Linked DNA regions of Homo sapiens: regions 2 and 3 are each linked to region 1. The links are contacts of gene promoters, found by promoter capture Hi-C in blood cells and fetal thymus (Javierre and others, 2016). All regions are on one chromosome and are shown on one strand. Each heading gives the region's core, a stretch centred on a gene start or on the middle of the fragment in contact. The rest is flanking DNA. Distances are from core to core; before and after follow the strand shown.

Region 1 (4,030 bases), core at 733-3,232:
CAGCACCCAGCCACTAAGAATTTCTTTAAAGCCACAAATAAGCAATTTTGGACATAATAAAATTTTGTGAGCCACATATAAACAATTTTAGAGTATATGAATGGAAAAGCTCAACTTCGATCAATCTGGAACACATACTTAGGTTAAGCATTAAGCTCTCATCAGGTGTTTCAGATATTCTATAGACAGGCTGTCTTGAAGGGAAACATGGTAAAGGCATGGCAACAGGTTTCAAGAAGTCTTTTGGCGCTGTATGCAGCTACAATCCATACATACAGTTCTGCCTAAGCAATAAATACCATCTTGAATAGTGGGAGGGGATCCATTTATCTTCTCAGGAAAAAAGTTCTTTATCTTCCTTTATTCGAAAAAGCAGAAAGCAAAAATGGAATTTCTATTAGACTTTTTTCAAAATATTTTTTCTTCTCTGTAAGTCTATTCAGACAATATTCAACAGATTTTGTAGTAGAAACTACCAACAGGTAAATAAAGAATGTACATTCGTGAAAAGGTGTCATGTTCATGACTTAGACTAGAAGGCAGGAGATTAGACAGGGCAAAATTTACTTGGAATACAATGTCAATGTACTATTCACACGACCTCAAAAGAACTTCTGTGGTCAAGTCCGACGACCTTTATTAAATTCCTGACAGTGACTTTTAACGTGAAAAAAACCTGTTTTCCCACAAAATAGGCTCCTTACATTTCACCTAGAACAATGGATATTTTAAGTGAAACAGATCTGTAGAACCTCTAAAACCAGACAAATGTAAACTAGAAACAAGGAGTTACTTCTCTCCAAATTTGGCTCCCCTCCATCAGCTCTACAATACTGCTGCATCATAAAAAAAGGTCATTAACTTAGATTGGATGCCACTTTTAATCCTTCATAAACATTTCTAATGAAACATACCAAGGCAATAAAAAATATTTCTGCTTCCTAAAGCAGATCTTAAAGAACAAAAAATAGGCCTGCAAAAAAAGTTATGATAAACTCTTAAAGTAGTACAACAATTAATGCCTTACATATGGAAACTGTGTCAAATCATGGAAACAGAAATCTAAGATTACAGGGTAACCAGCTAACTACTACTCATATTCGCTTCCTAATTAAAATTTATCAGTAATTTAAGATTGGACACAACATAAGCAATGCAAATGCTTGCTTATCCATACTAAGATTCCTATTATTTTAATCCCATTACCGCTCTAGTTTTTAAAAATACCGTAATGTCCAAGAATCGCTTTGTTAATACAGAGTGTCTTAGAGAATTAACATTTAAATGAGATTAAGGTATTTTCCCTGCAAACACTTAAGGTATCTGTGTAATCTCAATATAAGCAGTTCTACGCACATCTCATTTCCAGGATGATTTTTACCATTTTGCATGTCATTCCTTCCCCCAAGTGGAACTCACCTCAGTGACACAGGACGTTAGTAGGAATAACGGTGATGACTAATAAGCATCAGTCTAGGTGTGGCAGTCTTCCTACGGGGCTTAATAAAGCAGAGGTACCATCCCGCATTTTGAAAATGACATCCTGAAAGAGAAACCAAGACTGTCTAACCAGCAGCAGCTCACAGTCCAGACTGAAAGGGGGCACTGAGACTCTCCACACCTGACACTCGTCTTCAGTTGATACCACGGGTTTGACTCCGTCCTGTCTCGGGCGACGCCCGTAAGACAGGTCGACACTACCCCGACGAAACAAACAAACTGGTTTCTGAGCCCCGTAGAAACGGCGGGGTGCAGCAGGGGGAGTGCCTCCGTTACCGCCTCTCCAACTTCACAGAGGTCGTTGCTAGTGGCCACGGCGGGGTGGGGACGGGCGGCGTTCGGGACTGGGAAGCTACTTGACTGCCACGTGCTCCTGCCTCGCAACAGCGGCTCTAGATTCCGAGTTATGGGGACAACTGCTCGAGAGGCCAGGGTAGGGTAAGGACTCCGCAACCTAGGGTCCCAAAACCCTGGAGCGAATGCGGACTAAGGGAGAGCGGCCGGCGCGTCACCGGCGCTGGCGTGTGACGTCAGCGCGTGGAAGGCGGCACGCAGCGGAGGCGGCTGGGAAGGAGCAGTGAGGCTGGGCTAGAACCGTAGGGTCGGGCGGGGTGCTGTGCGAAGGGGCGGGCGGGGTGCTGTGCGAAGGGACGGGAGGGGCGGGCTCTGCAGGCGGGAAGACAGAAAGGACGAGACGGGAGAGATGAAAAGGATGGAGAGAGTGTAAAGCTGTTAAGAGTCATGCAGAGATGCGGGAGAGAACTCACTAGTTGAAACCAATTTGGAATATAAAGCATATAAAATTTTCCCACAGCTACTACACCGAGAAAGGGACTTTTTTATTTTACATGAAAGCGCACTACTTAGGGATGCCACATTTTAAAGAGCAATTTTGCTTTAAAAAGCAAGTCTTTTCCTATTATATCTTGGATGGTTGAAACAGAAGAATGTTTAAGTCTTGAGATATTTTTAAAAAGCTGTATGGGGTTTTCTACACCTTTACATCTAATGTATGTATAAATTACTTGTCTGTATGTTGAAGGGTTTGGAAATGTACAGCAGTCTAAGTACATTTTTTCACTGCAGGACTGGCGAAGGTAGGAAGAGATTCCCCTAAAACTATAATAAGGGATATCATCTGGCGTCATCCTGAGTGGCCCTACTCAGGGCAACTTTATTCCTAGGGACATTGAAAGATTTTGGCGGCTTTGCCAGACGATGGCGCTGCAAGTCACCCAACCTGAAAAGCTGGAGAGTTTGTTTTATCTCCTCTTCAATCGCCATACAGCTACAAAAGACTTATTTTCCTCATTCTTTCTACTTCTAGTCTACACTCCTGTGGGCCCTCCTACCCCCAGTTAGTAGGAATTATCATGTCTGAATGCACAATTGTAGTTCTACCCACATCCTTTTGTACATCAAAGTGAAGTGAAATGTTGCCAATTACTAATCTAAGCAAATTCTTTTTGCTGCTTACAGGAAGAATGGCTAGTCAGCTAACCTCCTTAGATAATTCTTTAGGCTCATGTCATAAACTATTGGTAGGACTACAAACTGCTACAGTCTTTCTAGAAGGTATGCTAGCAGTATGCATATCCTTTGACTCAGCAATTTAACTTCTGGAACAAGTGAGCAATGATTTATATACAAGGATAACCGTTATTGTTTATAACCAGAAAAACTAGAAATACTGTAAATGTATAACAATAAAGAATTGATTAAATTATAATATATCCAAACAATGAAATACTCTAAAGCCATTTAAAAGAGTAATCAAGATCTACTTTATTGACATACAAAGATACCATTGATATATTGATGAGTAAATAAAGCAGGTTACCTAAGAAGATTACCTGATTTCCCTTTCTGGTTTATATACCCCTGTACAATTGATTTTTTTTTTTATTTTTAAACAAGAGTGCTTTGGGGTTTCTTTTTCTTTAAATATTTTATTGGACTTTTCTTTCAAACAAAAAAGTTTTTGCTTCTTGCAACAAGCCAGTAACACAAGTACACAAAGATAAAGCCTATCGTCTCCTTCCCAGAGCTCTTCTGTGCTGTCCTCCACGAAACCAATGTTAACAGTTAATTAATATCATCTACATTTTTCTCTAAGTTCCTAAAAACATAAGCATGCATTTTTATATTTTATATATTAGTCTTAGTCTTTTATTTACTTATTTATTTTGGAGACAGGGTCTCATTCTGTTTCCCAAGCTGGAGTGCAGTGGCGCGATCTTAGCTCCCTGCAACCTCCGCCTTCCAGGCTCAAGTGATTCTCCCACTTCAGCCTCCCGAGCAGCTGGGACCATGGGTGCGTGCCATCACACCTGGCTAATTTCGGTATTTTTTTTGTAGAGATAGGGTTTTTGCCATGTTGCCCAGGCTTCTTGTGTGTGTGTTTTGTAGAGATGGGTTCTACCATGTTGCTCAGGCTGGTTTTGAACTCCTGAGCTCAAGTAATTCTGCCTGCTTTGGCCTCCCAAAGTGCTGGGATTACAGGCGTGAGCCACTGTGCCTAGCCGGGACT
Region 2 (4,030 bases), core at 954-3,453, 1.1 Mb before region 1:
ATTTTTTAAAAAGTTAACTCCTTATTTTCCCTTAGCAGTATATCAGGTTATAGAATCAGAGATACAACAATGACAAATTACATTTCAATTTGTAAAATTATGTGATGATATTTATCATTCGAAAATAGAGGAATAAAAATCTGTCCTCATTTCACCAGATGTGAATTTCAAGTAGAGCAGTTGCTATTAAGAGTTGGTGCATGTTTCTGACCAGTCCCCTCCTGTTATGGCATCACTGGTTGTCACTAGCAGCTAGCCAAAAAATAAAGTCTTATTTTGCTGTATTAGTCAGGATTTCTGCAGTTTATGTTTAAAAACTGGTTTAGAGTATCCAGGTGATGGATATATGGTCCATGTATCCCCTTTTGGTAAGCTATAGTTACAATCTGTGTGCTTTGTTGCCTGCTACACAGAAAGCAGCAGATAATCAAAGATTTAAGGGACACAGACAGCTGCCAATTCACAAAATGAGAGTGTAACATGAAAGCTTTTTAGAGGTTTTTTGTTTGTGTTCTAACAAAACATGTTAGAACACGTTTTGTTAGAATACGTGTTGCTTTTGCAGTGTTCTTCTTTTCCTTAAGACAGGAATCAAGCTTACATATAAACTGTTGGTAATTTTAGTTTCCTTCTGTGTTATTCAGTGTAAAACTGCATAATCTGAAAATGAATGAAAAAATAAATATTTAGTGGCTAGGCACAGTGGCTCATGCCTGTAATCCCAACACTCTGGGTGGCCAAGATAGGTGGATTGCTTGACCTTGGGAGTTGGAGACTAGCCTGTACAACTCAGCAAGACCCCATCTTTATAAAAAATACAAAAATTAGCCAACCATGCTGCCACACGCCTGTAGTCCCAGCTACTCAGGAGGCTGAGGTGGGAGGTTCACTTGAGCCCAGGACACAGAGGTTACAGTGTGCCAAAATCATGCTACTGCTATGTTGCAGCCTGGGAGACAGAGTGAGACCCTGTTTCAAATTTTAAAAAAAGAAAATTTAGTTTCCATTCCAAAAAAAAAAAAAAAATGAAAGAAGGAGCTAACTAACACTAACATCACTACAAATCTTTAGGCAATAAGAGGAAAATAAGAGAATATTATAGGCAACTTTATGCCAAAACATTAGACAACTTAGATAAGGCGGGCAAATCCCTTGACATATACAATTAACAAAACTGACACAAGATAAAACAGAAAGTCTAAATGGCCCTATATTTATTAACGAAATTGACTTTGTTATCAAAAATTTTATTCCAAGGAAAACTCTAGACCCAAATGGTTTCACAGGAAAATTTGATCAAATTTTATCAAATTCGTCTGAGGAAATAATACCAATCTCATAAAGACTTTTTCAGAAAATAGAAGAGGAAAATGGACTTTTCAACACATTCACCAGGTCGGCATGATCCTGATACCAAAACCAAACGAAGGCATTATAAAAAATAAAATTGGCCTGGCACGGTGGCTCATGCCTGTAATCTCAGCACTTTGGGAGGCTGAAGCAGGCAGATCACCTGAGGTCCAGAGTTCAAGACCAGCCTGACCAACATGGGGAAACCCCATCTTTGCTAAAAATACAAAAATCAGCCAGGCATGGTGGCGCATGCCTGTAATCCCAGCCACACAGGAGGCTGAGATAGAAGAATTGCTTGCACCTGGGAGGCAAAGGTTGCAGTGAGCCGAGACCATGCCTTTGTACTCTAGCCTGGGCTACAGAGTGAGACTCCATCTCAAATAATAAATAAATAAATAAATAAACAAGTAAAATTACAGATTAATGTTTTTCATGACTATATACCAAAAACACTTAAAATATTAGCAAATCAAACCCAGCAATATATTAAAGAAAGGATATCTATCATGACCAACTAAGGTTTTCCCAGGAATAAAAGATTGAATTAATATTTAAAAATCACTTAATGTAATCTACCAAATTAAGAAAGTAAAAGAGGAAAGGTGTATCAGAGTTTCCATAAATGTAGAAAAAGCATTTTTTAAAATGTAACACCTATTAATTATAGAAACTCTCAGAAAACCTAAAATAAGAAGAAATTTTCTCAATTTGATAATGGATATATGTAAAATAACTACAGCTAATATGATACCTAGTAGGGAAATAATGGATACTTTCCCTTTAAGATCAAGAACCAGGTAAAGATTCCCACTCACTCTACTTCAGCATTTCTAGAGATGCCAATCACTGTAATAAGGCAAGAAAAAGCAATTAAAAAATAAAATTGGAAAATAAGAAATAAGCATGTATTTATTCACTGAAGACATTAAAAAATCTAAGAAATATACAAATAAGCCACTGAAATTAATAAGTTGTTTTAATAAGATTGCAGGATACCAGTTAACAAACAAAAATCAATTCTACTTCTATATACAAGCAGCAAAAACTAAAAAATTATTTTTAAAAATTCAATTTACGGTAAGATCAAAACATGAAATATCTTGAAATAGATTTAGCAAAAGATGTGCAACGCCTCCACACTGAAGACTACAAAACTGATAAAACAAATTAGAGATCTTAAAAAACAGAGATACATATTGTGTTCACTAACTGAAAGACTATATTGGTCTACAAATTTAATGAATATCATTAAAATCCCATCGTTCTTTTTAAATAGAAATTGGCAAGCTGATTCTAAAATTCGTGTGGAAATGCAGAGAACCTAGAATAGCCAAAGTTAAACAAAGAAGAACAAAGTGGGCTTCAAGATTTACTATAAAATTACACAAATCAGGACATTGTGGTACTGGTAATTTGTTAAATCCTTTGATGGAACATAGTAGAAAGCCCAGAAATGGACCTACACATATATAATCATTTGATTTTTTGATGAAGAAACCAAAGCAATCCACTGGTGGAAGAAAAATGTTCTCAACAATGGATGCTGGAACAAATCAACCTCAATCCCCCATTCACACCACAAACACACAAAAATTAATTCAAGAAATATCATAGACCAAAATGCAAAAGCTGAAACTACATACTTCTAGAATTATTAATAAATATAGGAAAATATCTTTGTGACTAAGAGATAGGCAATGATTCTTATCAGGATACAGGCACAATAACCATTAAAGAATAATAAGTTAGATTTCACCAAAATTAAAATATCTGGTCATCCAAAGATAGTACTAAGAAAACGAAGTGGCAGCCGGGCACGGTGGCTGATGCCTGTAATCCCAGCACTTTGGGAGGCAGAGGCGGGTAGATCACGAGGTCCGGAGATTGAGACCATCCTGCTAACACGATGAAACCCCATGTCTACTAAAAATACAAAAAAATTAGCCGGGCATGGTAGTGCATGCCTGTAGTTCCAAGTACTTAGGAGGCTGAGGCAGGAGAATGGCATGAACCCGGGAGGCAGAGGTTGCAGTGAGCCAAGATTGCGCCACTGCACTCCAGCCTACGTGACAGAGCGAGACTCTGTCTCAAAATGAAGTGACAAGCCACAGACTGGGAAAATATATTTGCAATAATATACATGACAAGAGGTTGTATACAGAATATATCAAGAACTACTACAACTCAATATTAAAAAGATAAAGAACCCAATTTAAAATGGTCAAAAGATACGAGCAGATGCTTCACAAGTCATAGTATACAAATGAACAATAAGCACTTGAAAAAGTAGGCAACATCATTAGCCATTTGATAAATACCAATTAAAACACAGGGACATAACACTACACATCCACCAGAATGGCTGGACTGACCAAATACAAATGTTTGCAACTACACAGGGCACCAGAACTGTTATTCATTGCTGGAGTGAGTGTAAAGGGGCACAACTACCTTAGGAAAAGCTTTGGCAGTTTTATAAAACATATATTTCAACCACAGATACATGCACAAGGAAAATAAAAACTTACGTCCACACGAAGACTTGCATGTGAATGCACATAGTAGCTTTATTCATCTAGGCAAGATATTGAAAGAGATTGCTCAACAGGAAAGTGTCCACTCAACAAGAAAATGGGTAAACAAACCGTGGCACATTTCTACAATAAAACCTTACTCA
Region 3 (4,030 bases), core at 1,101-3,600, 1.1 Mb before region 1:
CGTGACACAATTTGTACCTATGATCTCTCTTACCATTTTTATCCCTTACTGCAATTTGTTGAAACTATTTTAATAGAAATTATCACGCTCCTCCTTGTAACTGAGTTATTTTTTACTCTTGTCTAATCCCTCCTACTGGATTGTAAGATCATTTAAGGAGAATAACTACGCCTGCCTCATCTTTGTCCTCCTTGAAGCTTCTCTTGCACAACTAAGCAGTTGTTCCGTTGATTTCATGTTCAACTTACTATTCCAGGAAAGGGAAGTAGAAGAAAGGAAGCATGACTGTAAGATGGGCGAGGCCAAGGAAGAGTCATTTCCTCCATGGTGAAGAACATAATGCTACGCAACTTCAAGCAAATTAAAAAACAGTTGTGGTTGGCCAGGCATGGTGGCTCACACCTGTAATCCCAGCATTTTGGGAGGCTAAGGTGGGCAGATCACAAGGTCAGGAGTTCAAGACCAGCCTGGCCAATATGGTGAAACCCTGTCTCTACTAAAAATACAAAAATCAGCTGGGAGTGGTGGCAGGCACCTGTAGCCCCAGCTACTCGGGAGACTGAGGAAGGAGAATCTCTTGAACCCGGCAGGTGGATCTTGCAGTGAACTGAGATCATGCCACTGCACTCCAGCCTGGGCGACAAAGCAAGACTCCAACTCAAAAAAAAAAAAAAAATGGCTGTGGCTAATGAGCGTTTTAGGGAAAATGACAATTAAGCTAAACTGCTAAAGCTGGAGATGATGGATAAGACAAGGATGAGAAAAAGAAGAAGACAGAAGAATTTCTAGGAAATTCAGATTCCTTCTGAGAAAAGTGAGGAGGCAGGGGACAGGACAATTTAAAGATGCCAAAGAATCCTTTATTCTTCAAAATTTCAAAATCTTTCAATGCTACTTACTAAAGTAGAACCACTTTAATGGCGTTGGTGTTTACCTCATTTCCTCTTCACTCATTAACAGCAGTATTAGTGGGTCTTTTTAGTCTATTTCATCTTCTGTGTCTATCACACCGGCATAGAATTACCAAGAGCACTGTTTGACAGAAAACATGAAATCTCAGGCAAATGATGGAGATGTTTGTGATTGTGTTTCATTCCTTTTGATTTTGACCTTTTCATTTTGGAGTGCTGACTGACATGGAAATCTCTGAAGCACAATTTTCCAGTGAACTTGGCCCGCTTGGAAACCGCCCTTGTTCATCCTCATTGAATGAGCATTTTCCCTAGACCACGTGCATGTTCCCGCGGCAATAACTGGCTTGCAAATTAAGCCTGAACCAGATATGCCATAGAACTATTATTTTCTTTTTCAATGTGCAAGCAGTTTTAAAGCTACACCTAATCCTGACTACTGGATCCTGTCAGATGGCGCCTCTTTAAAACCAAAATATGAGTTAATAAGCAGGTGAGATAATCTGCCTCCAGCAAACACTCCCTACATTAAGAATTGAAAATGTTTTCATCATTCAGAAGTTTGCTTTAAGCTTTGTTATATAATGCTCCTTGTGAAGTTTTAAAATGTATCATATTATGTTCATTTGGAACTAAAAAGCAATTGAATTAATAGCAGAACTCTGATTTCTGATCCACAGTTTTGTTAGTTTGATACATTGCTTAGGATTCTCAATTATGAAAACTACAATGGTAAGATGGTAAAGTGCATAGAACATGAGCTCTGGAGTTATTCCCTGGGCTTAAACCTTGGTTCTCCCACTCAGATTTTCTGCCTCCATTTCCTCCTTTCTAAACCAGAGGCTGCTGTGAGGGTTTTAAATGAAATAATCTACATGATGACTCTGGGCACAATGCCCACCGCAGGGTAAGCAGTCCATTATTAGCCATTATCATTATCAATCATCGTGATCATTAATTGCCTTTATATGTGTTATATGAAGTCATTAGGTAGCTAATGTTCTATAGAAGGGGTTGGCAATTTTTTCCTGTAAAAGTGCAGGTAAATATTTTAGACTTCATGTGCCATATAGTCTCTGTTGCAACTACTCAACTCTGACATTGGTTCAAAAAAACAAAGACAATCTCTACATTCAAACTCCTACCCATGAATTCCAACCCAGCATATATGTCAAAGGCCACCTATTCCTTGACCATATTTTCAATGGCCTTGCCCACTTCCCTCCCATTTTACCTGCATGTCAAACTGGGATCATCTATCTCTGTACCTTCACCTGGATGGCTGAGCTCTGGTGGAGAGAATTGCACAATCACACAGATTAATGACACTATAAATACATCACATCTAACTTCAACCAGGCCCTCACCTCTACCCATAAATCCTTCTTACAAAACTTCCTTCCCCCTTTTTCTACAACAGCTATTTCAAATCATCTTCTGTCCTCATAAACCTCCAATGCACAGAAGTCTCAGTTTGGGAACTCTCCTTTCTTTCTATTACAAATTTTGCAGAGAATCTCATGTTTCTCTCTCTCTCCCTTTCTCTCTTACCGCCCCCCATGCCCCAACACACATACACCCTTTGTTACTTCTCTCCTTTAACAATGAAAGAACTGCCCCCTTCCTACTGGAAGCTGAACACCTCATACTCCGTTTGTCCTATAATAACTCATTTCTTCTTACATCTTTTGAGAGCTGACCTATAAATCATCCCCGCTTTTTTACATTTATTTTCAGCTTCTCCCTTCTTACTGCCTAATTTGGTTTGTATAAAACATGTTACAGCGCTCTATCCTAAAAATGAACAAACCTCACCAGAGTCTATACTTTTGTTCAACTACTACCTTCTGTCTCTCCTTCTTTCTATGATCTTTTCAAAACAAACCACCACACCTGTAATATTTTCTTTCTTTCCTTCTTTCCTTTCCTTCCATGTAGCAATCTGGCTTATATTTCTGTTGCATACACCGAAAGTGCTGTTGCAATGGTGCTAAATATTCCCAAGTTGCTAAAATCAAAAATCAAAAGGACATGTACTGCTTCCTGAGATATTTTCTTTCCCAGCTTCCACGATATCTAGCTTTTCTTGCTTCCCTGTGATTATTCGAAGGATTCTATCTTCTCCTTCTTTTTTCCTCGATGACCTTATGCATTCCCATGTCTTAAAGTGCCACCCATAGGCTAATAATCCCCAATCCAGCTCTGTTCTCCCTTCTCCTGGGCTCTAGATCAGCATCTCAAATCTCCTAGACATCAACACCAGAGTTACCAAAGGTCCCTCAACTGCAAAAGGCTCAAATCAAAATCAAGCTTAAAAAATAAAATAAAATAAAATAAAAAAACTTGTTCCTCCACTTGTAGCATGTAAGTTAATGGTACCAGTCATCTGGTTGTTGAGGTGAGAAACCTGTAACCCTGCCTCTGCATCACCTCTGCCTTTAATCAATTACCAAGTTCTTTCCTTTCTATCATCTATCTTATGGACCCTGGACCCACTGCTTCCCTGAATCACCAGCTCTCACTTCAGAGTCCAAGAAGGACACATCTAATCGCTGTCTAGGCCAAGTGCCAAGACTTGTGCCCAGTCTCCAAGCGGCTGGGAAAGAAAATACTTGGAGATTTCACATCCCATTACAAGTGAGTTCAGTTTCTCACTGAGCCTCAGAATATGAGGAATTCTCCAAAATGAAGACGTCCAGATGACAGCAACACCAAACGTGAAACCATGATAAATGTGTGCACCCCCTGGATTACTGCACAAGCCTTCTCACGGACCGCCCTACTGTCAGTCTTGTCTTCCTCTTTCCCTACCTCTGTCCCGGATCCAGACTGCAATCAGTTATCTCTCAAAAATGTAAGTCTGGTGATGTTTCTCAAGGACTTAACACTCTTCCTTGCCTACTGACTACCCATAACATAAAATGCAAGTTCTCTGCATGGCTCCAGGCCCTCTCTGACCTAACTCCTGCTTTCTAGCCTTATCTCTGGTTATTTTCCCATCTCCAGATAGATTTCTGTTTAGCTGAAATGCTTAGTAGAATTACCTGAGTCTGCCATGTGCTCTCTGGGATCCAAGTCTTAAAATACATATTTGCCAGTATCCTCTTCACCTCCCCGCT

What was found. Contacts are between HindIII fragments. The CHiCAGO score rates a contact against its expected background, and 5 or more counts as called.
Region 2: a fragment that was not itself captured here is called in contact with the fragment with the promoter of NEK1 in region 1 in 1 of 17 cell types (activated CD4 T cells); the score reaches 6.7 in activated CD4 T cells.
Region 3: a contact is called between a fragment that was not itself captured here and the fragment with the promoter of NEK1 in region 1, in 5 of 17 cell types (non-activated CD4 T cells, naive CD8 T cells, monocytes and 2 more). The highest score is 9.6, in non-activated CD4 T cells.

What each region holds. Positions count from the first base shown.
Region 1 is chr4:169,610,601-169,614,630 of GRCh38, forward strand. NEK1 (NIMA related kinase 1) reads right to left here and starts at 1,983. Exons shown (of 36, transcript NM_001199397.3): 1 at 1,622-1,983; 2 at 1,420-1,543. RefSeq lists enhancers at 1,456-1,575, 1,996-2,055. The HindIII fragment of the contact is 11,256 bases long and covers 1-4,030 here.
Region 2 is chr4:168,466,436-168,470,465 of GRCh38, forward strand. The region is part of intron 4 of DDX60L (DExD/H-box 60 like); the gene reads right to left. Among named protein-coding and RNA genes, the nearest start is that of DDX60L, 12 kb to the right of the region's middle. The HindIII fragment of the contact is 3,219 bases long and covers 595-3,813 here.
Region 3 is chr4:168,503,934-168,507,963 of GRCh38, forward strand. The region is part of intron 1 of PALLD (palladin, cytoskeletal associated protein); the gene reads left to right. All of the region lies in intron 1 of LOC107986198 (a long non-coding RNA gene), which reads right to left. Among named protein-coding and RNA genes, the nearest start is that of PALLD, 8.9 kb to the left of the region's middle. The HindIII fragment of the contact is 1,738 bases long and covers 1,482-3,219 here.